Regions from separate parts of the Homo sapiens genome. Here all the other regions are linked to region 1. Evidence: promoter capture Hi-C in 16 types of primary human blood cells and fetal thymus (Javierre and others, 2016). All regions are on one chromosome and are shown on one strand. Each heading gives the region's core, a stretch centred on a gene start or on the middle of the fragment in contact. The rest is flanking DNA. Distances are from core to core; before and after follow the strand shown. Region 1 holds the start of GJB2 (gap junction protein beta 2). Region 2 overlaps IFT88 (intraflagellar transport 88). Region 3 holds the start of IFT88 (intraflagellar transport 88). Region 4 has its middle 18 kb from the start of IFT88. Region 5 overlaps CRYL1 (crystallin lambda 1). Region 6 overlaps CRYL1 (crystallin lambda 1).

Region 1 (4,439 bases), core at 1,231-3,730:
ATTAAGAGATGAAGACATAAAAGGTGAGAAAAACATGGTTTATTTCCAATGTTTCCATTTCTGTTAAAAGTAATGCTTTCAACAGAAAAAAAATGCAGCAATATAAGTGTGTAATTTACAAAATAATTTCAGGATTTCTTTAATCATTAATTTGTGGTGTCATCTGTTAACTGGATTTACGTCTAAGCTCATTTGTAAATAACTTCAAATATCCAAGCCTTCCCTCACCCTTTTCCCACCTCACCTCTCCTCCTTCTCCTCCCCTACACTGGAGGACACTATGTACATGCATATAATGTCCTGCCCTAGAGGAGTCCTGAGCCTACTTGGGAAGAAAACACCAACTCACAGGAAAACAGCAGAAATCACACAAAACAGAATAAAAGCAAGCGCTGATCTGTAAGTGAAGACTTAAGTGCTATAGGACTTCCAGCTACAAATCCTGAAAACACGGAGTGGCTGTGATAATACGACTAGCCAACATCACACAGTAATTTTGCACATAAGGAGAACTAAATCAAAGAAAACAAGGAAAAGAAAGTTGAGCCTATAATCGTGATACAGGCACTAAAATCTCAGGTGACATTTTTCAATGGGGGAAAGTCAGTCAACTTCCGATCTCCAAACCATCTTTACTAGCGAGCTTCCCACAATGGTTCTAGAACCTTCCTTCATTCCAACCCAACCAGGATTCCAACAGACTCATAAACACCACAGCCTTTGAGAAATTAAAGGGAGAACCCACCAACCGGCGCCCCACTCCCCACCCCAAGTCACCTCTGGCTCAACCAAGATGCGCTCAGGCCAAGAAAGCTGCCCCACCCCACAGGCTTTGCCTGTCATTTTTAACAAGCCGACTCAGCACATCTCTCAGATGGGCCATGCAAGGCTTTTCGCAGCTCCTGGGGCTTTGCCTCTTCATGAGCAGACACTCCCTCTTAGACTAAGACCTGGAGCTGGAAAGTAGGTGGTAACCGCGGTACAAAACTCACGCTCGTCCCTGCAGAAACTGCCTAGGTCGGCCCATGGCCACGGGGCGCCAATTTTTCAAGGAAAAGTCAATGCTAATAATGGTGGCAATCACGGGAAATCCATTCTGAGGCCAGATCTGACTTGTCAGGATTAATCATCATTTCCACTTAACTTCGAACTGACCTGGGTAAAAACGTGAGCGCGAGGGGACCAGGCTGCACCTCTGACCTGGCTCCCCTCTGCAAAAATCGCGAAGTGGGTGCCCGAGGTGGGGCGGGGGTTGGGGGAGACCTCCCCGGGAGTCCCCACCCAGCCTGCTCTGCACATCTTAGTCCCTCATCCGCTTGCGCTGTGCAAATCTGTCTTCTGTCATTTGTATCGCAAGACATCAAAATCCCCAACCAAATGCAAATACTGAGACCTCATAATCTGAGACAAAGTTTCACGGTATCCAGAAAGCCCCCAGCAGGTGTGCAGTGCAGAGCCAGCCCCCCAGCGGTCTTCCGCAGAATCCTATCAGTTTCCCCCTTTCGTGCTGTGTGCATCGAGCAGGAAGGGGCTTGGCAGGTTTTACCTGCCCTCTTTCCTTTCTGAAAAGTCTGGGCCTCCTCACCCCGAAAGGAGTCACCTCCTTGCAGTTCCCCAGTTGCGAAAAGAGGAGGAAGTTGGCTGGGCCGGGGGCCGCGGGGGGCACCCTCCGCAGATGGCGGGACCCCCCTGCCGGCCATGGCAAAAACGAGGCTTGTCTCTCCCACCGCCCCCAACCTTAGTCCTTGGCACATTGTTGAAAGTAATTGAATAAAATCGGAAATTCGAGAAGGCGTTCGTTCGGATTGGTGAGATTTTGAGGGGAGAAAGAAGCGGGGACTTCGCCGGCACCAGCGGCGCCCCCTCCTCGGCCACCGTTAACCCCCATTCCAGAGGGCACTGCCCCGCCACCCAGCCTAGGTCCCCCTGCGAGAGCCTCGCGGGCCCGCGCAGCCTCCGCGACTCGAACAGATCTTCAGTCCTTGGAGGAATGCCTGTTTCTCTAACAATAAAAAATTAAAGAAGCGCTCATAAATGCCAAGTCCTCTCGCACTATGCGGAGTACAGAGGACAACGACCACAGCCATCCCTGAACCCCGCCCACGGCACAGCGCCGGAGCCGGGGTCTGGGGCGCCGCTTCCTGGGGGGTCCCGACTCTCAGCCGCCCCCGCTTCACCCGGGCCGCCAAGGGGCTGGGGGAGGCGGCGCTCGGGGTAACCGGGGGAGACTCAGGGCGCTGGGGGCACTTGGGGAACTCATGGGGGCTCAAAGGAACTAGGAGATCGGGACCTCGAAGGGGACTTGGGGGGTTCGGGGCTTTCGGGGGCGGTCGGGGGTTCGCGGACCCGGGAAGCTCTGAGGACCCAGAGGCCGGGCGCGCTCCGCCCGCGGCGCCGCCCCCTCCGTAACTTTCCCAGTCTCCGAGGGAAGAGGCGGGGTGTGGGGTGCGGTTAAAAGGCGCCACGGCGGGAGACAGGTGTTGCGGCCCCGCAGCGCCCGCGCGCTCCTCTCCCCGACTCGGAGCCCCTCGGCGGCGCCCGGCCCAGGACCCGCCTAGGAGCGCAGGAGCCCCAGCGCAGAGACCCCAACGCCGAGACCCCCGCCCCGGCCCCGCCGCGCTTCCTCCCGACGCAGGTGAGCCCGCCGGCCCCGGACTGCCCGGCCAGGAACCTGGCGCGGGGAGGGACCGCGAGACCCAGAGCGGTTGCCCGGCCGCGTGGGTCTCGGGGAACCGGGGGGCTGGACCAACACACGTCCTTGGGCCGGGGGGCGGGGGCCGCCTTCTGGAGCGGGCGTTTCTGCGGCCGAGCTCCGGAGCTGGAATGGGGCGGCCGGGGAAGTGGACGCGATGGCACCGCCCGGGGTGCGAGTGGGGCCGGGCGCGCGCGGGAGGGGAAAAAGGCGCGGGCGAGCCGCCAGCGCGAGGTTTGTGGTGTCGCCGATGTCCCTTCGGGGTACTCTAGCGCAGCCGCCTGGCTACTTGACCCACTGCCACCAAACGTTTTAAATTCACCGAAAGCTTAGCTTCGAAGCAAAGCTCCGTTTCGCCGGTGAAGCAGGAAGCCTTCGCTGCAGGAACTGACCTTTACCTCTTGGAGCGGCTTCTGCAGAAAAATCCCCGGGCAGAGATTTGGGCGGAGTTTGCCTAGAACTAACGCGGAGCCAGCCGATCCCGGCCTACCCCGGGGCCAAGATTTCAGTGGCTTCCCTTTTTCCTAAACACTTCACGAGGGTCTGTTTCCGGGCTGTGCTCCCCGCCTAGAAGGAAAATTTTTAGGACCCTTGTTCGCGAAGAGGTGGTGTGCGGCTGAGACCCGCGTCCTCAGGACGGTTCCATCAGTGCCTCGATCCTGCCCCACTGGAGGAGGAAGGCAGCCCGAACAGCGCTCACCTAACTAACAGCTGCTGAGAGCTGGGTTCCGTGGCCATGCACCTGGGACTGCCTTGAGAAGCGTGGTACGGCCGTGTCCCCATGTGACCTTAGAGTCCCTTTCGAAACTGCTGTGCACAGTCGGTCACAATTTCAGACACTGGTGAGAAGGGTGGAGGAACCCTCTGGGGACAGCCAGGCAAGGTCGACCACCCATCACCTAAGGGTGGAGAAATTTAAGGGGTGAAGAGTCCCTTTTGCCTTTTCTGGATCCTGGTGATTCACCTAGTGTCTTCCCTAAGGAACTGAACCAACTCCTCCGCTGGCCTCTGGCAGCCCTCCAGGCGGTGCAGGATGGCGTGGGCCCGGTAGGAAGCTGCATGTAACCGCCCAGGGTCGGGAGGCCAGGAGGGCAGCTCCTCCTCTGACTTGAATATTGAAAACAACTTCGTCCTGCTTCTGAGCCCCTCTTAACCCATGACCCCCTAGCCCATTGGGGAGTAAATCTTAATTTACTCCTCTTCCTGAAAAAGGATCTTTAAAACAGGTAGCTTCAACTCAAGCTTTATAAAATAACAATATAGGGTTTCTCGGAACTGTATTTTTCTCAGCTGATGGTAACTGGACAGGTCTGTAGAAGGGTGTATGACCTGGGTTTGGCAGGTGGAAGAGGGCAAAGGATAAACCCCTCCTCCTGCAGCCCCATATTCTTGGCCAGGTGTATTGTTGTAAACCAGGAGAGAGTTTACTTCGGGGAGTATCCTGTTTTCCACTCAGTGAGGGCCAATGAAGAATGTCTAATTCCATAAGATGCTTTTGTTAAAATCGGAATGTTGCTGTCCTCGGTGGTTCTGCTGTTGGGACGGGACTGGCCTGAGCTGTGGGTGCTGTAGCAGGACAACCAGCTCACCTAAGGGCCTCCCAGTCTGGATTATCAATGGGTCAGTGCTGAACCTGGGCTAAAATATTGTTTTTTCCAATGATGTTGTCTTTCCCAAGCTCAGTGAAGCTAAATGTTTCACAGGCCTATGTCAATCTGATGTAACTTTCGTGGCCACCTCTCTCCTG
Region 2 (4,137 bases), core at 844-3,343, 480 kb before region 1:
ATTTTTGGTACACATCCATGACCCTCCATCTACAATTCCAAATTCCAAAGAGCTCTGAAAGCCAACTCTTCAGGTGGCAATATATAAACTTCTTGGGTATAGAACTTGACTTGATTTGAGGCTATTCATAGTCTTTATTTATCCTTAGTGTGAATATTCATGTTTCACTGAATTAATATGTCTGAGGTGCTCTCCTTGGGTAGTATGTGATACATGGCTAATACATCTTGCTTTCTAAACTCCAAAAGGTTCTGAATTCCACAACACACCTGGCCCCAGGGGTTTTGGGTAAGGAGCTGTGGGCTTATGGCTGCCTCTGGCTTAAGAACTGCTGGGCCAGATCTCTCTGACTAAATCCAACCCCAGATAGTCACACGGATCCATTAAAGTGGAGTGTGTGAGATATCTGGGGCTAGGGAAGAGCAAGGAGACAGGAGTAGCCATCAGGACCATGGTGGCTGAAGAGATGGAAGTGGCTACTCTTTGATGTGACAGACTGCCTTTGGTACTCTTGAGGCTTGGGCTCAATGCTGCTTTTACTGATTTCTCCAGCTCTGGGTAATGGCTCCTGAAGATAAACAGGCCAGCACCATGAGGTTTAGCTGGAGACGCTGGACTGACTCTTGGGGAATCAAGTGGCCTGGCTAGAACCCGATGCCACTGATGGCTGTAACTGCCTACTAAGTTATAAATTGAATTTGACTGCAATTGGGACGAAGACTCCTTGAATTTCAAAGCACAGCTCTGAATTCAAGGAGTCTTTGTCCCAACTGCAGTTTCTATCCCTAGGAAAGTTTGAAAACTCATGTACATTTCTCTACCATGGCAGCATCCACAGCACCATTAGAAGCTGTGTGTCTTTCCAACTAGATTCTAACTTCTTTGAGCATGGGGACCACGTCTTATTTGTTCCCATGTCCTTGGCTCTTAGCACAGTGTTTGGCACACAGTATGCATCCAATAAACACTGTGAATGGATGAAAGGCCTGCCTAACTAAGAGCTACATTTGTCTTTGTCCTGACTCCTACATCACAAACAGATATGACAGAATGCAGCTGGATAGTTACATGGAGCTAGGTCATATATGCATGAGAGTGCTGAGTATGGATAGGAGAGAATGTAGGTATATTTATAGACCCCAATTCGACATTTATTTTTAAAATTAGCTTCTTTAAAATCACCAAATTTGTACTAAGTTTAACTTACACTGCCTGCCTGAAGTAGAGAAAGAAGGTAGATTGTTGATGGGAAGAAGGGGTGGAAAACTCAATAAAATGTCTTATTATGTAATGATGTCACAAGGAGTAAAAGAATTTTAGAGATGCAAAGAACTTCAGAAATCACCAAAAGCCTATAGCATTTATGTGGTTGGTCCAAAGACATATATACATCGTCACGATCAAGACTGGGACTCACACTATGTCTCCTAATTCCTAGCTTGTCACTAATTCTACACTAAAAGTCAGACTAAAGATTTAGGGCTGTCAGCATTCCATAGGACCATCCTCCTTCTCGTGGCACTTCCTTCAAATGGAAATTTTAAAAATGTAACACAGCAAAACCTCATAAGTACGCCCATCTATGATAATCTGTCCAACCTGAGAGATTAATAAATGAAAAACTTGTTTATTAATCAACTAGCAAAAACAAGCATGGTTATTTAAGAAAATCTGTTAGCATTTACAAATACTCATTTACATATCAGACTGACTGCTTACCAAATTAATTAATGTGAAGTTTCACTGTGTATAGAACAAACCGACAGACACATAAGAACACTTTAGATTATTGCAAGATGTTTCCAGAAGCCCACATACTAGAAATGTGGAAACCAAGTTTTTCAGGGAAAGAGAAAATACTTACCACCGCTAGCACTTCCTTCTCTTTTGCCACGGGAGCCCCCACTGCCATCTCTGCCTGACTTTATGCGCTAGAGCAAAGAGAAGACAAGTTTAAAAGAATAAGTGCTATTCCTTCAAAGTTGAATATAGATAAAGGTGGATTTTAAAATTAACATTACTACATTACCCTTAGGACTAACCCATCATACCTGAGAGTTGATTCTATAGAAAAAAAAAAAAAGCCTGAGTTGTTTTGTAAGTGGAGGGTTCAAGCCTTCCCCTCTAAGGCTCTTGAGAAAACTCGTATAGCACTTTAATTCAAAAGTGCAGCGTAACCTTGGCTTACACAAACAACTCAAAACTAAACAGTATTTTCTTGATGTGAACATTCAGGGCTTAAACATGATCTTTAGTTTAAGGGAGGGATGGGTGAGGAGGGGATAAGAATCTACAAAAGGGCCATTTCTTGCCATTAGTCCTCATATACAATGGTTGGACCTGAACTATTTGAGGGTAAAAAAAAAAAAAAAAAAAAAAAGGTAAGCTGAGTTTTGAAATTCAATTTATAAAATAAAAGTATGATTAAAACCTCACAAAAGACCTAAGATCTGTCCAACAGTCTACTTTCTTAGATACAGACTCGCCTTCAAAGCCTAAGAAGTATCTCCACACTGTGGCATTGTTAGGTTTCTTTCTACATTTTATGGTTCTGTTTTGCCTAAGTATTAGAATTTTTGTATTAACATTGAATCTGCCTCAAGTCACACTATCAAATTTTCATATGTATAATGGTTCATTTACACAGCTACAGGATGATTAGTGAACAGAGACAGATGGCTTTTTATGTTTATAATTGAATTAAACTTCTTAACATGGGTGGATATTTTATTTAGATCTTTAATAATATAAACATAAGACATAAACATAATTTCATATTTAATTCAAAAGACAAATTATTTAACTCCTTAACCCTGACAACTTCCCAAATATTTATAAATTGTCAGGTCATGGATAAAGTTATTGTCTGTGGTTTGCTAGGAAGAAAGAAATTCTTTTCAATAATTAACTCATTTCTGTAAGATGAAATACTCTCTTAAAACTCAGGACTTCCAAATGTTTCATAAACATATCCAATTTTTTTTCCATTAAAAGGAAAAGCACTTCCCTTGAAATATCAACTTTCTCCTTGCCTTCATAGATGAAAGAAAATCTTAAAAAGATGTAGCAAAGTAAGAATTTAAACATCCATAATCTGACTTTATTTCAAAACTTGATTTTCATCCAACCACAGATGGATCATCTCCAGCATACCAAAAAGACCTCTAAATGCTGAAAATAGGCCCGGTGTGGTGGCTCACGCCTGTAATCCTAGCACTTTGGGAGGCCGAGGCGGGTGGATTACCTGAGGTCAGGAGTTCAAGACCAGCCTGGTCAACATGGCAAAACCCCGTCTCTACTAAAAATATAAAAATTAGCCGGGTGTGGTGGCAGGCGCCTGTAATCTCAGCTACTCTGGAGGCTGAGGCAGAAGAATCGCTTGAACCTGGGAGGTGGGGGTTGCAGTGAGCCGAGATCACACCATTGTATGCCAGCCTGGGCGACAGAGAGAGGGACTCCGTCTCAAAAAAAAAAAAAAATGCTGAAAATAAATTCATCAAGACAAATGTCCACATAGCTTGACAGTTTTTAAAACCACATGTGAAAACTTGTATCCTGTTTAAGTGACTAGAGGTTCAGAACAGGATATGCGAAGGTAAGTAAGCACTTCCATAATCACTACACTCTTTATTGCCTGACACCTGTTCCCTGCACTCATCTAGAATTTTCCAGTCCTCTGGCTCTCATCACTCTTCTCTTTTTAAACTCTTTAAATTCCTACTTTCTGTCCAGCCTAGAATCAAGGCCTACCACGTGCCATGACGCCACATTGGAACTATGGTCCTTGCCTCCTTCTTGTCTTTCTGCTTCACTCATCAAGAGAAACCTAAGCCTCGGTTGGTTCAGTGCCTTCCCTTTTTCCTCTCCTACTCCCAGGACACTGTGCTGGGGAAACAGCTCCATCAGTACAAAAACCAGGCAAGCCTCAGGGCTCCCCACTGCTCACTTAGATCCTCCCGTGTGCCCCATGCAGGCCATCTCACTTCTCGTAGACACCACTTTTTGTCCTCATCACTTTTGGAACTGACTGTCCTGCCTGCTTAGAGAATAAAAGGAAAACAGCATCTCCTTGGATATGCCAGCTGGCATGGACCCTGCATGGATGGGTCCGCTAATCCCTGTCTGCCTGCCCTCCCT
Region 3 (4,188 bases), core at 1,174-3,673, 370 kb before region 1:
TGACCTTGTGATCCGCCCACCTCGGCCTCCCAGAGTGCTGGGATTACAGGCGTGAACCACCGCGCCCGGCCAGCTCATTCCCAAAAATCAGGTTATCACATGAATTATAAGGATCCTGTATATATTCCTGATACTAAACATTATATAAATGATTTACAAATACTTTCTCCCATTCTGTACATCATTTTACATTCTTTGTACTATCCTCTGAAGCACAAAAGTTTAAAAAAATTTTTTTTTTTTTTGGGACGGAGTCTCGCTCTGTCACCCAGGCTGGAGTGCAGTGGCGCGATCTCGGCTCACTGAAAGCTCCGCCTCCCGAGTTCACGCCATTCTCCTGCCTCAGCCTCTCCAGCAGCTGGGACTACAGGCGCCCGCCACCACGCCCGGCTAATTTTTTGTATTTTTAGTAGAGACGGGGTTTCACCGTGTTAGCCAGGATGGTCTCGATCTCCTGACCTCGTGATCCGCCCGGCTCGGCCTCCCAAAGTGCTGGGATTACAGGCGTGAGCCACCACGCCTGGCCAAAAGTTTTAAATTTTGATGATATACAATTTATTTTTCCTTTGGTTGCACGTACTTTTGGTATCATATCTAAGAAAGAACTGCCTAATCTAAGGTCAAGAATATTTATACCTATGCTTTTTTTCTAACAGTTTTAGCTCTTATATTTAGGTCATTGATCCATTTTGAGTTAATTTCTCATTACTTTTTGAAGATGAAAATTAACTACTATGAGGGCAAATGTCACCCACATAGAAATGGCATTCCAAAATAGCTTCAAAAGGTTATTAAAAGGGCCAGGCGTCGTGGCTCACGCTTGTAATCCCAACACTCTGGGAGGCCGAGGCGGGCGGATCACGAGGTCAGGAGATCGAGACCATCCTGGCTAACACGGTGAAACCCCGTCTCTACTAAAAATACAAAAAATTAGCTGGGCATGGTGGCGGGCGCCTGTAGTCCCAGCTACTCGGGAGGCTGAGGCAGGAGAATGGCATGAACCCGGGAGGCGGAGCTTGCAGTAAACCGAGATTGCCGCCACTGCACTCCAGCCTGGGCAACAGAGCGTGCGACTCCGTCTCAAAAAGAAAAAAAAAGGTATTAAAAGTCACTGGTAAAAGATATATAAAATATTTTTAATTAAAAGCTTTAGCTCAGATAATACTAAACCAGTGGTTCTTAAACCCAAGTGATGCTGAGGCTACTGGTCTGGGGACCACTTTGAGAACCACTATTCTGAACCATAATTTCTGATTATGAACCCTATTTAAGTCAGCTTAGTTGACACATAAGTTATAGAAGGAAGCAACTTTTAGAATGAGAAATCCTTTCTGCTAGGTTGTAACCAGATTTTTAAAAGGTTTGACTTGAGACTTTAGTTGAATAGACATCTTGTGGAACATACAAATATTAAAAGATGTGGAAAGTGAGGCCAGGAAAGTTGAAGGGAATCAAGCATGGCTAATAGCTATGGGTGGCAGAACAACTGTTGTTATACAACCCAGGGTTTCTGGATTCTCCAGGCAATTTCCAAAGCAGCTTATACATGTAACAAACTTTTCCATGTTGAAATAATCTGGGGATGATGCCACCTATGTTTAATATAAATCAAATGCTGGCAAAACCTTTTTTTTTTTTAAGTGAAAGGTATGTTTTTTAATACTCTTCTACTGACTATGGACAGTCTACTTCAAGCTTTTCCAACCCCGGCCCGCACGTGGCACAGGACGGCTTTGAATGTGGCCCAACACAAATTCGTAAACTTTCTGGAAGCATTATGAGATTCTTTTTTGCGATTTTTTTTAAAGCTCATCGGCTACCTTAGTGTTTGTGAATTTCATGTGTGGCCCAAGACAATTCTTCTTCCGATGTGGCCCAGGGAAGCCAAAGATTGGACACCCTTGGTCTACTTCCAAGAAGCCTACTGCAGTTTCTCGAAAAAAAAAAAACAAACAAAAAAAACTCACAACCAGAAAATCGGACTAGTAAAAGTGTAATTTTAGGCTTAGAAAGAATCTTGGGACAACAGTACTTCACGTTTTTGGAATGTTTCCATCTTTGTGAGGCTAAGTACCGCTTTCTGCATTGTTGTGTACTTTTATCTTCATTCCTGATTCAACTTTCATCAGGCAATTTGAAGTGCTTCACCTAACAAGAAAATTAAAGAGCGATGTGCACCATCTCTGCTGTGCGATTCCAGAGCTGGCGCAGTAATCTAACTGGGTTTTAAGTTTCCCCGTCAGGCGTGACTGGGACTTGGGACATCGCCAAGCGGTCAGCGACGCCCGTCCCAGTTCAGAGGAGCAAGAAAAGCCTGTGAGCTGGGGACACCGATGTGAGAAACAACGCCCGCGTTTCTGAGTAGACAACTCGGGAGCCTGAGGAAGAAAAGCAGGGGCAGGCCGAGTCCATCTGGGGCCCCGCCTCAGACCGCCCCGGGGCCGACAGGGGCGGGCAGGAGACGGGCGAAGAGGCCCTCGGCGGGATGCGCCACACAGGACGCCGCAGGGGCACGGCTGCCAGGGGCCCTGAGGCACTAGGCCCCAGCGCCCTTCTCCTACCTCACGCTGAGGGAAGCGGGCGACAGTTATTCGGGCCCAGGGACGACGCAGCGGTTGGCCAAAGCGCGACGCCGAGCCGTTGCCAAGCGCGGAATCCAAGGAAGCCGCTCCCACAGTCCTCCGCGCGGGGGCGGGCGGGGCCGGAAGCGCGGGGGCGGGAGAGAGCGCGGCGGGAAGGGGGTGGTGCGGGAGGCCTGGGGAAGTGGGTGGGGGCGGAGAACGGCGGGTCAGAGAGAAGGCAGCCCGGTCCCCCTCAGTGGAAGGGAGTGGCGGTGGGCGGAGGGTGTTGAGGGGACGGTGCCAGCGGCTTGCGGGAAGCCGGGCGATGCGGGTAGAACGGTGGAGGAGAGGGCAGGGAGGCCGGGGCCTCCCGTGGAACGGAACCGGGGGGTTGGGAGGCTGGGGGCGGCCTGTGTGAAGGGGGCGGGGAGGGAAAGGCTCGCGGCCAGTAGATGCAGGAGGGAGGAGGGCCTAGAGGGGCTCCGGGCTGGCGGCCTCTGTGAGGAAGGGGAAGGATATGGAACCAAGATCCTTTAAATCCTGATGAACTCATCCGTAAAGCAGATGCCCAAAGGATGATAGTAAGCTTACTGTGACATAACTCCCGGAGCCGCAGCACGAGCCTTGTGAACCTTGGAAGCCCGTTTTCCGCGCAGTCACTAACTCGCTTAGTCACCCTGTGTAAAAGTTATTCTGGGATGACACCTGCCTGGGAAGTCTCACCTTTCCCCCCACCTCCTCCTGTCTGCGTATTGTTCTGTAGCACCCCGTGCGCACCTTGATTGTAGCGCTTAAGGTGTCCGTTTTATTTACTAGACAGGGATTGAACCATTGTGTCCCAACCACCTAGAACCTGGGTCATAGTGTAAAGCTTAATCAATGTAATATAAATGGGGGAATTAAATTCATAATTGTTTAATGTTTAAGTTTTGTCTTAAATTTTAAAAGTAAATGTTGGGGATGGAGGGGAGGGACAGAGGGAGTCTAAAGACACCAGTAATTAATGAGTTTTTATAAAATAAGTAGTGTTGGCCGGGCGCAGTGGCTCATGCCTATAATCCCAGCACTTTGGGAGGCTGAGGCTGGCGGATCACCTGAGGTGAGGAGTTGGAGACCAGCCTGGCCAACGTGGTGAAACCCTGTCTCTACTAAAAATACAAAAATTAGCCCGGCGAGGTGGCAGGCGCCTGTAATAAATCCCAGCTACTCAGGAGGCTAAGGCAGGAGAATCTCTTGAACCCAGGAGGTAGAGGTTGCAGTGAGCCAAGATGGTGGTATTGCACTCCAGCCTGGGTGACAAGAGCGAAACTCCATCCAAAAAAAGAAAAAACATAGTGTTGGGGGACAATTCTCCATGGGTCACCTGCACTTTCCCGTGTTTTGTGAGCAGAGACACTGACTGCCTTTGTTCTGGAGTACTATGATAGCTGGTATTTTTTAAGATGTGATTAACAGTTAAATTAGACTTGAGTAAAGCAGTTGGTCCTCCACAAGGTGGGTTGGCCTCATCCCGTCAAGGGAAGGTCATAAGAGAAAAGACTAAGGTCCTCTGAGGAAGAAGGAATCCTGCCCCCAGACTGCCTTCAGCTCTTTCCTGGGTCTCTAACTTGACCTACAAATTTTAGGC
Region 4 (4,658 bases), core at 123-2,622, 360 kb before region 1:
CCAGTAATGACTTTGAAACGGGCATCTAAATACTTTCTCTGAAACCCCAGTGAAGAAAGTCAAGGGGTCATCCAGGGTGAAGATCTTAATTGGCCTGTTTCCTTCAGCAAGTCTACATGCTTGTTGATTTAGCTTCTCAGCTTCTAATTTTTGTAGATTTCTCAAATTCAGGATCTCCATCTCCCTTCCTCTTACTCATCCTCCTACCACCCCTAGAATCCTGAATCTAGACAAAGATAAAATCCATAAGTGACATTTTCTGTAAGTGAAGTTGGAAGTAATTTGGGAAAAAGCTACAGTAATTATAAGTGGTTATGAAACCCTAATTTTCTGACAAGAACCTACTATCTCTCTGGACATAGTTATACTCAAGCACATCAGTTTCCCTAGACAATATCATACACATCATAGCCTCTGTGACATATGGTTGTATAGGTTGTGGGTTGTGCACTGCACAAGGACACATTTAAGGAGGTGTTGCTCACATTATATACATCACAGATTTGGTACTTATAACAAAAATAAAAACAATTTTCCAGAAGATGGCAGTAAAGTTGTTGGAGGCTGAAAGAATGAGGGTCGTGGTCAACTCAGTGCACCACTGGCGGCTATATGAGCAAACAGCAAACTGTTCTCGTGAAAGCAGGATGTTGGTAAACTGACAAACTGTGCCTGCCGCCCAGTAGGAATGCTGAGGGCAGTCACAACCCAGGCACGAGTGTTTCTTGTGATTAGGCACAACTGAATCCTGTTAGCAATAATGTGAACCTGTGATCAATTAAGCAGCTGACCAATCTACCTCCTCCTCCCTGCTCTTTATACCCAATAAATATGAAGGGCTGAAGAAGCTCGAGGCTGCCTTTGCTCACTAGAAGCAGGGAGCTCTCTTCTTCTTCCCCTGGACCCTTCCTTTAAAACAGTTACTTTTGTCTTAAGTTTTCATTTCCACGTTCATCCCTTCTTTCAGTCTCATAAAGACGGTCTCAAGTAGTAACAGTAGTAACTGTCTCAAGTAGTAACAGTAGTAACTGTCTCAAGTAGTAACAGTAGTAACTGTCTCAAGTAGTAACAGTAGTAACTGTTGTAGCGATGGTCTCAAGTAGTAACTGTGGCAGTCTCCCACACAAAGTATCTTGTTCTTAAAAAAAATCAAGGGGCCAGGCCAGGTGGCTCACACCTGTAATCCCAGCACTTTGGGAGGCTGAGGTGGGCAGATCACGAGGTCAAGAGATCGAGACCATCCTGGCCAACCAACATGGTGAAACCCCATCTCTACTAAAAATAGAAAAATTAGCCGGGTGTGGTGACGCACGCCTGTAGTCCTAGCTACTTGGGAGGCTGAGGCAGGAGAATCGCTTGAACCCAGGAGGCAGAGGTTGCAGTGAGTTGAGATCGTACCACTGCACTCCAGCCTGGTGACAGAGCAAGACTCTGTCTCAAAAAAAAAAACCAAAAAACAATACATTATGACAATTTTCTGTAGAGGAGAGTACAATGTCTTGATGAAGAAGTACCTTTCTCTGATTTACACAAAGGTATGAAATGGACTACCATTGGCTCTAGGGCTGTATAAAATCAAATCCAGACTATTAGTGAAAGTGAACCAATGCAGTTTAATAAGTAAAGAAAAAAAAAGAATGATCAATAATATATATTGAGCCAGGCACAGTGGCTCACGCCTGTAATCCCAGCACTTTGGGAGGCCAAGGTGGGCTGATTTCTTTGAGCTGAGTTTGAGACCAGCCTGGGCAACATGGCAAAACCCTGCCTCTACTAAAAATACAAAAATTGGTGGCGGGGGGCAGGGTGTGCGGTGTGGTGGTGCATGCCTGTGGTCCCAGCTTCTCCAGGGATGAGGCTGGAGAATCGCTTGAACCCGAGAGGTAGAGGCTGCAATGAGCCAAGATCGTGCCACTGCACTCCAGCCTGGGTGACAGAGTAAGACCCTGTCTTAAAATAATAAGTATTGAAATTCTGGCTTCCAAAATACTTGTTCTTTGTTCATATATTATATTACATGTGCAATATAGTGTCTTCGTTCATTCTGGCCGCTATAACAGAATGCTGTAGACTGAGCGGAGCATGGTGGTATGTATGCATCTGTTGTCCTAGATACTTGGGAAGCTGAGGTAGGAGGACACTTGAGTCCAGGAGTTTCAGTCCAGCTTGAGTAACATAGCAAGACCCCTCTCTAAAAAACAAAAATGCTATAGACTGGGTGGCTTATAATAACAGACATTTATTTCTCACAGTTCTGGAGGCTGAGGGGTCCAAGATCAAGGCATTGGCAGTTTCAGTGTCTGGACAGGGCCCACTTCCAGGTTCATAGACAGCCATCTTCTCATGGTCTCCTCACATACTGAAAGGGATGAGGGGTTTCTCGGGCCACTCTCATAAGGGCACTAATCCTGGGCATGAGGGCTCTGCCCCATGACCTAACACAACCCAGAGGCCTTGCTTTCTGATAACATCACGGTGGGGGTAGGGATTCCAATGTATGAATTTGGGGAGACATAAACATTCAGTCTAATATGTGTAGTATAAATAAGATAGTGTAATACATGCTTCCCTAGGCCTCATGGAACCACAGGTACAAATGTGATTAATATATATGGGGAGGAATTCTTCAGTTTTAGGAACATCTTTCTGTCACCCCAAAAGTCTCCCACACACATACACACTGTCTTCCATCTTTGGATCCCCCGAAAAGTAATGTATCAAAAGTACTGTGATGTTAAGGAGGAAAGGGTTTTAGAGAAAAAATAAATTCCTGATTCACTTTGTGACATGTTTAAATTATTTTGTTCCTTGTTCAGGACTATGAGCTTTCTGGCTTGGGCAACTACAGCTGAAAAATGCAACACCCTTTTCTTGTGGAGCAGTTTTACCAAAGTAACGTTTCTCTTATGTTTTGTTCATTTCAGAAATTGTCATCTTCCTTTCCCCCTCTCTTCTTTTCTCTCTCCCTTCCTCCCTCCCTCCCTCCCTTTCTTTTTTCTTTCTTTTTTTTGCAGGGGTGGGAATAAGGTTTCACTCTGTTGCTCAGGCTAGAGTGAAGTGGCACAATCAAACCTCACTGCCATCTTGACCTGCTGGGCTCAAGCAATCCTCCTACCTCAGCCTCCCTAGTAGCTGTGACCACAGGCACATAGCACCATGTTTGGATAATTAAAAAAAAAATTTTTTTTTCATAGATATAGGATCTTGACATACTGCCCAGGCTGATCTCGAACTCCTGGGCTCAAGCAATCCTGCCTCAGCCTCCCAAAGTGCTGGGATTACAGGCGTGAGCCACCTTGCCCGACCTTCCTTTCTAAGCAAAATAAATATAGGCAAGGGATGGATGATCAGAAAGCATTTGTAAAGTGCAGTATTAATGTAAGCTATTACTTGTGATATTTTAAAGGATGTCAGAAGTGGACAGGAGGAGAAGGACCTATGACCAGTGTGTTTAGACAGGGGATAGGAACAGACATAAGCAGCGACGTGTGCACTGGTTTTATGAACTAGTTTGCTATGACCCTGCAATGCCTTTGCATGTTCCTGGAGACTATGCCTGAGTTTTCAAATTCATCTTTTGTAAAACACTGTTCAAGTTTAGGATAAATATATAATTCAAGACATTTTGACTAGAAAGGAAAGATCTGGTCTGAGATGGACCTGCTAAGTGGCCTGGAAGTCTTGGGGCTGTCACCTGTAGAATGGTGGGGCTGGAATCTGCTTTACATATGCCAGGGAGGTGCCAGGGAGGGCCAAGTGAGAGTATGTGTAAGGAAGAGCTGCTGCGTGATACTACAGAGGACACAGAATGATCCAACACTGGCCATGTGCCAAGCACATTTTAGAATGGATTCTATCAGTTAATCATTAACAATAACCCTTTAAGAGGGAACCTCTATTATGACCATTGTACTGCTGAAAAGGCTGAGTTTTGAGGAACTAACTTGTCTAAAATCATGCAACTAGCCAAGCACGGTGGCCCACATCTGTAATCCTAGCACTTTGGGAGGCCAAGATGGGCGGATTGCCTGAGCTCAGGAGTTCAAGACTAGTCTGGGCAACATATTGAAACCCTGTCTCTACTAAAATACAAAACATTAGCCAGGCATAGCAGTGTGCGCCTGTAGTCCCAGCTACTTGGGAGGCTGAGGCAGGAGAATTGCTTGAACCCGGGAGGTGGAGGTTGCAGTGAGGAGATCAAGCCATTGCACTCCAGCCTGGGCGACAGAGCAAGACTCCATCTCCAGAAAAAATAAATAAAAATAAAAATAAAATCATGCAAGTAGCAAAATATGAATTTGAGATTCAGACCCTGGCAATCTGACTCCAGAGCTCACACTTTTAACCACCGCACAGTTTTGCCTTTCTGATATTGACTTGTATACTGTTACCTATGTAGCAACACGTTAAGTTGGGGATTACGGCTGATGCCCTAAGATAACAGATCACAGATGTAAAAATGAATTGCCAGACCAATGTGCATTTTTTCAAAGTAGGTGGTCCAGAATGTTTTGGAACTTTTTGATCTCTTACTAGTATTGGGGTAAAGGATGGAGAGTTGGGATTTCACCTTCAAAGTGTTCCTCTGCGACTGGTCCCAGCTGGCAAGAGGGGAGATTTAATGACCTAATTAAGACTGTATTTGCAACTTAAATTAC
Region 5 (4,198 bases), core at 1,283-3,782, 260 kb before region 1:
TTTTTTTGTTTTGAGACGGAGTCTCACTCTGTCACCCAGGATGGAGTGCAGTGGTGGAATCTTGGCTCACTGCAGCCTCCACCTCCCAGGTTCAAGTGAGATTCTGGTGCCTCAGCCTCTTGAGTAGCTGGGATTACAGGCTTGTGCCACAACCCCAGCTAATTTTTGTATTTCTAGTAGAGACAGGGTTTTGTCATGTTGCCCAGGCTTGTCTCAAACTCCTGACTTCAGGTGATACGCCCGCCTCGGCCTCTCAAAGTTCTGGGATTACAGGTGTGAGCCACTGCATCCGGTCATTGTATTATTTCTTAAAATTTTTTGCCTAACCCAAGGCCTCACAGATTTTCTATTTTAGAACATTTATAGTTTAAAATTGTACATGTATGGCTATGATCCACCTGAATTAATTTCATGGAAAATATAAGGTATATACTAAGTTACATTTCTTTGCATGTGAAAACCCAGTTGTCCAGCACCATTTGTTGAACCCTATCTTTTCCCCATTGACTTATCTTTGTATCTTTCTAAGAAATCAGCTGCTTAGATTTGTATGGATCTATCGCTGGGCTCTCTTTATATAATATTGATCCATGTGTCAGTGTAACAGTATGTGCCCATATTACTTTCTCTTAATTACTATAGCTTTATATTAAGCCTTGAAATTAGATACTATGTCATCCAACTACTTTTGCAAAATGGTTTTGGCTATTCTGACTCCTTTGCCTTCCATATCTTAGAATCAGTTTGTTGATATCTACAAAATAAACTTCTGGGATTTCTATTGGGGTTTCAGTGAATCAGTACATCAAGTTCAGGAGAACTGATGTGTTAACAGTATTGAGTCTTCCAATTCATGATTATGGTATAGCTTGAGTTTTCCAATTCATGATTATGGTATAGCTTGAGTTTTCCAATTCATGATTATGGTATAGCTTGAGTTTTCCAATTCATGATTATGATGTAGCTTGAGTTTTCTAATTCATGATTATGGTGTAGCTTGAGTTTTCCAATTCATGATTATGGTATAGCTTGAGTTTTCCAATTCATGATTATGATGTAGCTTGAGTTTTCCAATTCATGATTATGGTATAACTTGAGTTTTCCAATTCATGATTATGGTGTAGCTTGAGTTTTCCAATTCATGATTATGATGTAGCTTGAGTTTTCCAATTCATGATTATGGTGTAGCTCTCCACTTTATGTAGGCCTCCTTTGACTTATTTCATCAGCATTTCATGGTTTCCTGCATATTTAAGGCATTTTTTTAGATTTATGCCTAAGTAATTCTTGTGTATGTGTGCTATTGTGAATGGTATTTAACATTTTTTTTGATTTTCCATTATTAATTGCTACTGTGTAGAAATACAGTTTTTTTATATTGACCTGTATCCTGCAATCTTGCTGAGCTCACTAGTCCTTGGACTTCTTCATAGATTCTTTGGGATTTTCTATGTAGGCATTTATGTCTTATGTGAATAGAGACAGTTTCATTTTCAATCTATATGCTTTTTATATCTTTCTCTTGCCTTATTGCACTGGCTAGGACATCAATATGATGTGGAATAAAATTCTATTCCGGAATAGAATCTGTCCAGCCTGGGCGACAGAGTGAGACAGCTTGCCTTATTCCCAATGTTAAGGAGGAAAGCCTTGAATTTTTCACCATTAAGTGTGATGTTAGCATAGGAATAATAGCTACCTTTCATCATGTTAAAGGGATTCCCATCTATTCCTAGATTGCTGAGAGTTTTAAAAAATATCATGAATGGGTCGGGTGCGGTGGCTCACGCCTGTAATCCCAGCACTTTGGGAGGCCGAGGCGGGTGGATCATGAGGTCAGGAGATGGAGGCCATCCTGGCGAACACGGTGAAACCCCGTCTCTACTAAAAATACGAAAAAAATTAGCCGGGTGTGGTGGCAGGCGCGTGTAGTCCCAGCTACTCAGGAGGCTGAGGCAGAAGAATGGCGTGAACTTCAGAGGCGGAGCTTGCAGTGAGCCGAGATCGCACCACTGCACTCCAGCCTGGGCGACAAGAGCAAGACTCCATCTCAAAAAAAAAAAAAAACAAACACGAATGGGGGTTGAATTTTGTGAACTGATTTTTTTTTTTACATCTATTGGGATGATCACATAATTGTTCTTTTTAAATCTGTTTATATCATGAATGACATTGATTGATTTTAAAAAGTTGAACCAGTCTTGCATTCCTGGGATAAACTCCAGTTGGTCATAACGCACTATCCTTTTTTGTTGAGATTTTTTTTGCATATGTGTTTGGAATAGATTTTTTTTCCCCATGTAATGTCTTTGTCTAATATTTTGATATTACGGTGATTCTGCCTTCATAGAATGAGTTGGGAAATGTTTCTTCTTTATTTTCTGAAAGAGATTGTAAAGATTGGCAGTAGTTCTTTAAATGTTTGGCTGAATGTGGCAAACCCTGGGCCTGGAGTTTTCTGTGTTGATAGATTTTGAACTACAAATTTAATTACTTTCCTATAAATAGACTAATGAGGTTTTCTATTATTTCTTAAGTGAGTTTTGGCAGTTTGTGTCTTTCAAGTAATCAGTCCATTTGTTCTAAGTTGTAGGATTTCTTGGCATAAATAATTATTCATAATATTGCTTTATTATTCTTTTAATGACTATAGGACTGGCAGTGATGTCCCCTCTTTCGTTCTTCATATTGGCAATTTGTGTCTTCTCTCTTTTTATTGGTCAGTCTGCCTTGAAGTTTGTCAGTGTTACTGTTTTTTCCCTAAGAAACCAGATTTGATTTCATTGATTTGTTTCTGTTGTTTTTCTGTTTTCAATTTCATTGATTTCTGCTTTTACTTTTATTGTTTTCTTCTTCCTTTCTTTGTATTTAATTTGCTTTTTTTCAGTTTCTGAAGATAGAGGGTTGGATTAACGATTTGAGATATTCTTCTTTATTAATGTAAATATATAATGCTATACATTTTCCTCTCAGCATTGCTTTAGTTGAATCCAATGATTTAATATATTGTGTTTTCATTTTCAAAATATTCAAATATATTAGAATATTTCAAAATATTCAAATATATTAGAATATTTCAAAATATTCAAAATATTTCAAAATATTCTAATTTCCCATGAGAATTTCACCTTGACTGTAGATTATTTGGAAGTGTCTTGGTTAATTTCCACATATTTGGGGATTTCCTAGATATTCTTTTCTCATAGACTTCCACTTCAATTCAATTATGGCCAGAGAACATACTTTGTTTGATTTCTATTCTTTTAAGTTTTGTTTCATGGCCAGACTATAATCTATCTTGGTAAATATTACATGTGAACTTGGAAAAGTCAGGCATTCTACTCTTGGGTGGAGAGGTCTCTGAATGTCAAGTAGATCAAGTTGGTTGATAATGTTATTCAGCTCTGCTATAATCTTATTGATTTTTAAATCTTGTTCTGAGAAAGAAAGTTATTGAGGTCTCCAGCAGTAATCGTGGATTTGTTTATTTCTCCTTTCAATTCTGTTTTTACATTATGAAATTAGAAAAAACTAATTTTAAAATTCATCTAAATTTAAACATTTTAGAAATTGTATTTAATACCCAAAATATGTTAAATCCAATATAACACTTTTTTAGAGCAGCTTTAGTTCCACAGGAAAATTAAGAAGAAGGGACAGAGATTTCCCATAAAGCCTCTGCCCCTACGCATGTATAGCCTCCCCCATTATCAGCAACTCCCACCAGAATGGCACATTTATTACAGTTGATGAACCTACATTGACACATATTAATCACCCAAAGTCCATAGTTTATATTAGAGTTCACTTTTGGTATTATGCATCCTATAGGTTTTGACAAATGTATATTGACATGTATCCATCAATATAGTATCATACACAGTATTGTCACAGCCCTAAAAATCCTCTGTACTCTGCTTCTTGATCTTCTGCAACCCCAACAACTTCATGTATTTTGTAGCTCTGTTGTTAGGTGCATAAACACATAGAGTTGTTGTATCTTCTTGGAAAATTGACCCGTTTAGTGTATTGTAATGCCCTTCTTTTTCTCTGATAACATTTCTTGTTTCTTAGGTCTACTTTTTGAGATATTAATATAGCAACAGCAGGTTTCTTTAGTTAGTGTTTGCAAGGAATATTTTTCCATTCTTTTACTTTTGACCTATCTAAGTCCATACATTTAAAGTAGATTTTTTTT
Region 6 (4,232 bases), core at 914-3,413, 280 kb before region 1:
CAATGGGAGATGGTTATTTATGAAGACTGTTGGATACTGTGTGCTACACAGAATACACCATGGAGCCTGCCCATATATATTTTTATATACATATATATATATATAACTACGTAATATATATATTATAAAATGATAATATATAATATACTGTAATATATACTATAATACATATGGTAGTATTTATAGTATAGTATTATATATTATCATATAATATATATTATACTATCTATATACTATAGTATATTATATTTTAGTATAATATATAATAGAATACATAATGGAATATTATATATTATCTATTATACAATTATATATTATCTAGTATACAAAATAATATATAATATAAAAATAATTTTTTAAAATTTATTATATATATTTTTAATATATTTTTAAAAATATTTTTATATATTTAATTTTAAACATTATTAAATGATAATATGTAATATTAAATACACCATGGAGCCTGCCTGTATATATACCTACTGTGTGTCAATCTCTTACTATGGGCCAGGTCCTGTGCCGCCCATTTTATGCAAAATGACCCACTTCAGTCCTCAGGACGCCCATGTAAAGTGGGTGCTAGTATTTATTCCATGCCATGCCCGCTCTCCAACCCCAATCATTGTTGCCTGCACACCTCAGGAATATTTTTGATTGTTTTACCTACTGCTATTTCTCCAACACCTAAAACAGTGCCTAGTTTATACAAATATTATATATATATATAAATTAATTACTTAAGATTTTTAGAGTCAAGGTCTTGCTCTGCTGCCCAGGTTGGAATGTAGCTGTGTGATCATAGCTCACTGACGTCTTGAACTCCTGGGCTCAAGCGATCCTCCCACCTCAGTCTCCCGAGTAGCTAGGACTACAGGCATGTGTCACCACACCCAGGTAATTATTTGTTGCTGTTTTTGAGACGGAGTCCCGCTCTGTCGCCCAGGCTGGAGCGCGGTGGCACGATCTTGGCTCACTGCAAGCTCTGCCTCCCGGGTTCATGCCATTCTCCTGCCTCAGCCTCCCGAGTAGCTGGGACTACAGGCGCCCGCCACCACGCCCGGCTAATTTTTTGTATTTTTCGTAGAGACGGGCTTTCACCATGTTAGCCAGGATGGTCTCGATCTCCTGACCTCGTGATCCACTCGCCTCGGCCTCCCAAAGTGCTGGGATTACAGGCGTGAGCCACCGCACCCGGCCTACACCCAGGTAATTTTTTAGTAGAGTCGAGGTCTCACTGTGTTGTCCAAGCTGGTCTTGAACTCCTGGGCCTAAACAATCCTCCAGCTTGGCCTCCCAAAGTGCTGGAATTGCAGGCATAAGCTACCTCGCCCTGCTGAGCCTGCGTTTTTAAGAGGTATGAGGCATAAGCGGGAATCTGGGAGCTTCATGTTAATGAAAAGTAAGGGACACCTGCAGAACTCGGTGCTGGCCCTGCTGCATGTTTTTCTTCCGGCTTGGGCTCCCTGCTGCTCACCTAGCGGTATCAGCACGCTGGGAGCATATCTGCTGACGCAGAGCTGCCTTGCTGTGTTTATTTTCATTTGAAAGTCAATATTCAAAGACTTGTTGCCCAGTAAGTCTGTTTGAACCACTGGGGGAAATCAAAAGGTTTCTTTCAAGGGGCGGCCTTTCACCTCTTATGGGTCTGGTTGACCTGTATCAGTCCCTGCTGCCCAGCAGAGACCTTCCTGCCTTTCGTTTTTCCTTTTTTTTTTTTTTTTTGAGATGGAGTTTTGCTCTGTCACCCAGGCTGTAGTGCAGTGGCGCGATCTTGGCTCACTGCAGCCTCTGCCTCCCGGGTTCCAGTGATTCTCTTGCCTCAGCCTCCTGGTAGCTGGGATTATAGGCACATGCCACCACTCCCAGCTAATTACCTTCCTGCCTTTCAGAGGCCCTGGCGTTCAGCAAGTATCGCATTGCACATTTGTGTGTGGGAAGACACCTGGGACACTGGAGTAGCTATTTCTGTTGTTTTGGCAGAGGAGGCTGCTACTGTGGTTTCCTCTGAGAGACCTACTGTGGTTTCCTTCCTTCCTGCCGCGTGCGCAGGACCTGCCCCGGAACTGCCGTGTGCGTGGGGCAGGTGACACAGGCCAGGATGAGGCTGTGGCCTTCCTGGAGCAAGTCCACTTTCCACTGACTGAGTACACTTACACAGCCTTCCTTTAACAGGCTCTCTGCCTGTGATTTGTGGATATGTCACCGGGACTCGTCCTGCGGCCTTTTGCTTCTTGCTTTGCTCGCGTTTGAAGGCACTTGCTATCTTGCCATCCTAGTTGGTAGGTGGTGGGTGGGAATCTTCCGCTGAAAGGGTCCCTGGTTTCTCTGAGCCTGGCCAGAGCCAGTTGCACAGCATCAGGTGATTCCCCTCTGTTCCCAAGGCCTCCTGAGGCTGATATGGCTCTTCTTTAGTCTTGGCCTATGACCCGCAGCTAATGGGAACTACTGTGCATCCATCCCTTACCATGGACCAGGTCCTGTGCCACACTCTTAACACAAAATGACCCACTTCAGTCCTCACGACACCCCCGTAAAGTGGGTGCTAGTATTTATTCCATGCCATACCCACTCTCCACCCCCAATCATTTTTGCCTGCACACCTCAGGAATATTTTTGATTGCTTTATCTACTGCTGTTTTTCCAGTACCTAAAACAGTGCCTGGCATGAGGCAGGAACTTAATAAACATTTGTTGATGACTGAATGGATTATCTGTTTAGAAATGACAGGATAAAGATCTCACCCCAGAGCCCAAAGGTGGAATCAGCCTTTGGGCCAGGTCGCTTGGACTCCAGCTGGAACCTGCATGCCTGCCACCCCTGCCAGGGAGGGAGAGACACGGGGTGTGATGGGGTCTGGGAATGCGGGGAGGCCCTCTTCCCGGTGCTCCTGAGGTGGCGGATGGCTCCCTCCTCCCTGTCCAGTTGTCTGCTCCTTCCCTGTCCCTGTAGCCTGGTGATGGCCATCCTGTCTGTGAGGCTGACTTCTGACTCGCCACTCTGGGCAATGGACATCGCGAGAGGACTTTGCTGCCCTGTGTTCCGGGTGTTGGAGGGTGAAGGAGGCTGCGCACGGGTCCAGATGCTGGGCTGTTAGAAGCTAGAGTGGATGGACCAAGAGTTCGGAGCTTGCTTGACCCTGAGGCAGGGGAGCCTTGTCCCTGAGACTTTGGGAGCTGAATCACAAGATCCAGAGTTGAGGAGGTCAAGATTGTTAAGGCCAAATGGTCTCCTTCCCTTTACTGAAAGTAAAGGAGGCTGGGGCAAGTCCAGGCAGGTGACGGTTTCTCCAGCAAACCTTTCTGGGCTGGTCATTGGCTGAGGGCCCTGGGAGGGGAGAGGAAGGTTGTGTGTGTCCCCCTGGACACAGCTGAGCCAGGAGCACTCTGAGTGTGAGCAGCTTGGGAGTCGCCGCTGCCTCTGAGGGGCCAGGAGCATTTTATTTCTTCCCAAGGTATCCTCTCATCTTTTCCTCAAGCTGTCCCTTGAAATACTTGGTTTGGCTGTGGAAAAATATTACTAATTACAATCACTTACATGAACAGGAACTCCATGCAGTAATTATGCATCTTGTCAAATAGGGGCTGACTGGCTCTTGGTAAGCCTTCTGAGGGCGACACAAAATTTTTCAAGTGTGTGTTGCTTTACCGGTTTGTTGCTTGTGGAATATGGCTCTCTCCTCCCAGCTCAGATATTAGAGGAAGCCTACATCCCATCCCTATGCAGCAACGGCTGGGGACGGGACAGGGCAGGTGGGCGTGAGAGCTGCCTGCTGCCGGCGCTGGTCCCGGACCGGAGGTTTCCTCCGAGATACCTAGTGAGCCCTTTAAAGGCCACTATGATGGCTGAAAGTGGAGGAAATTATGAAAAATATATTGTCAGCATCTTAAGATTCTGACTCTTGTATGCTTTTAAGTGGAACAGTTTCCAGGAGCCATAGTTGAGCTCTAGCTGCTGCTCTCTGTGGAATTCAGGACGTGCCCATGCCTTTCTCATTGTGCCCAGATGTTTTTATTCAGTGTCTGTCCCCTTCCCAGCCCAGAGGTAGGGAATCCCCTTCTTCAGAGAAGAAGAAATGGAAGCCGATGCCTGTCATTAATAGCCATGTGGGTGACCCTCAATGAAATTACCCTGTTACTTATACCCGATTCACTTGCTATGTTAACTAAATTACCCTGTTACTTATACCCGATTCACTTGCTGTGTTTTTGGTACTTTCCTGAGACGTTAGAAT

The links. Contacts are between HindIII fragments. The CHiCAGO score rates a contact against its expected background, and 5 or more counts as called.
Region 2: a fragment that was not itself captured here is called in contact with the fragment with the promoter of GJB2 in region 1 in 1 of 17 cell types (M1 macrophages); the score reaches 5.6 in M1 macrophages.
Region 3: a contact is called between a fragment that was not itself captured here and the fragment with the promoter of GJB2 in region 1, in 3 of 17 cell types (M0 macrophages, fetal thymus and naive CD8 T cells). The highest score is 7.5, in M0 macrophages.
Region 4: a contact is called between a fragment that was not itself captured here and the fragment with the promoter of GJB2 in region 1, in 1 of 17 cell types (M0 macrophages). The highest score is 5.2, in M0 macrophages.
Region 5: a contact is called between a fragment that was not itself captured here and the fragment with the promoter of GJB2 in region 1, in 5 of 17 cell types (M2 macrophages, M0 macrophages, M1 macrophages and 2 more). The highest score is 11.0, in M2 macrophages.
Region 6: a fragment that was not itself captured here is called in contact with the fragment with the promoter of GJB2 in region 1 in 10 of 17 cell types (M0 macrophages, M2 macrophages, M1 macrophages and 7 more); the score reaches 14.2 in M0 macrophages.

What each region holds. Positions count from the first base shown.
Region 1 is chr13:20,190,979-20,195,417 of GRCh38, reverse strand. It overlaps GJB2 (gap junction protein beta 2), which reads left to right and starts at 2,480. Exons shown (of 2, transcript NM_004004.6): 1 at 2,480-2,635. The HindIII fragment of the contact is 5,188 bases long and covers 1-3,022 here.
Region 2 is chr13:20,668,767-20,672,903 of GRCh38, reverse strand. IFT88 (intraflagellar transport 88) reads right to left here. Exons shown (of 26, transcript NM_006531.5): 24 at 1,865-1,931. Among named protein-coding and RNA genes, the nearest start is that of IL17D, 33 kb to the left of the region's middle. The HindIII fragment of the contact is 6,033 bases long and covers 1-4,137 here.
Region 3 is chr13:20,565,630-20,569,817 of GRCh38, reverse strand. IFT88 (intraflagellar transport 88) reads right to left here and starts at 2,661. Exons shown (of 26, transcript NM_006531.5): 1 at 2,562-2,661. LOC105370103 (a long non-coding RNA gene) reads left to right here and starts at 2,789. Exons shown (of 6, transcript XR_941725.3): 1 at 2,789-3,142. RefSeq lists silencers at 2,268-2,456, 2,552-2,961. The HindIII fragment of the contact is 1,452 bases long and covers 1,698-3,149 here.
Region 4 is chr13:20,546,965-20,551,622 of GRCh38, reverse strand. No RefSeq gene overlaps it. Among named protein-coding and RNA genes, the nearest start is that of IFT88, 18 kb to the left of the region's middle. The HindIII fragment of the contact is 9,139 bases long and covers 1-4,658 here.
Region 5 is chr13:20,452,289-20,456,486 of GRCh38, reverse strand. The region is part of intron 3 of CRYL1 (crystallin lambda 1); the gene reads left to right. Among named protein-coding and RNA genes, the nearest start is that of MIR4499, 21 kb to the right of the region's middle. The HindIII fragment of the contact is 7,348 bases long and covers 1-4,198 here.
Region 6 is chr13:20,473,845-20,478,076 of GRCh38, reverse strand. All of the region lies in intron 3 of CRYL1 (crystallin lambda 1), which reads left to right. Among named protein-coding and RNA genes, the nearest start is that of MIR4499, 42 kb to the right of the region's middle. RefSeq lists enhancers at 1,652-1,701, 1,772-1,971. The HindIII fragment of the contact is 6,724 bases long and covers 1-4,232 here.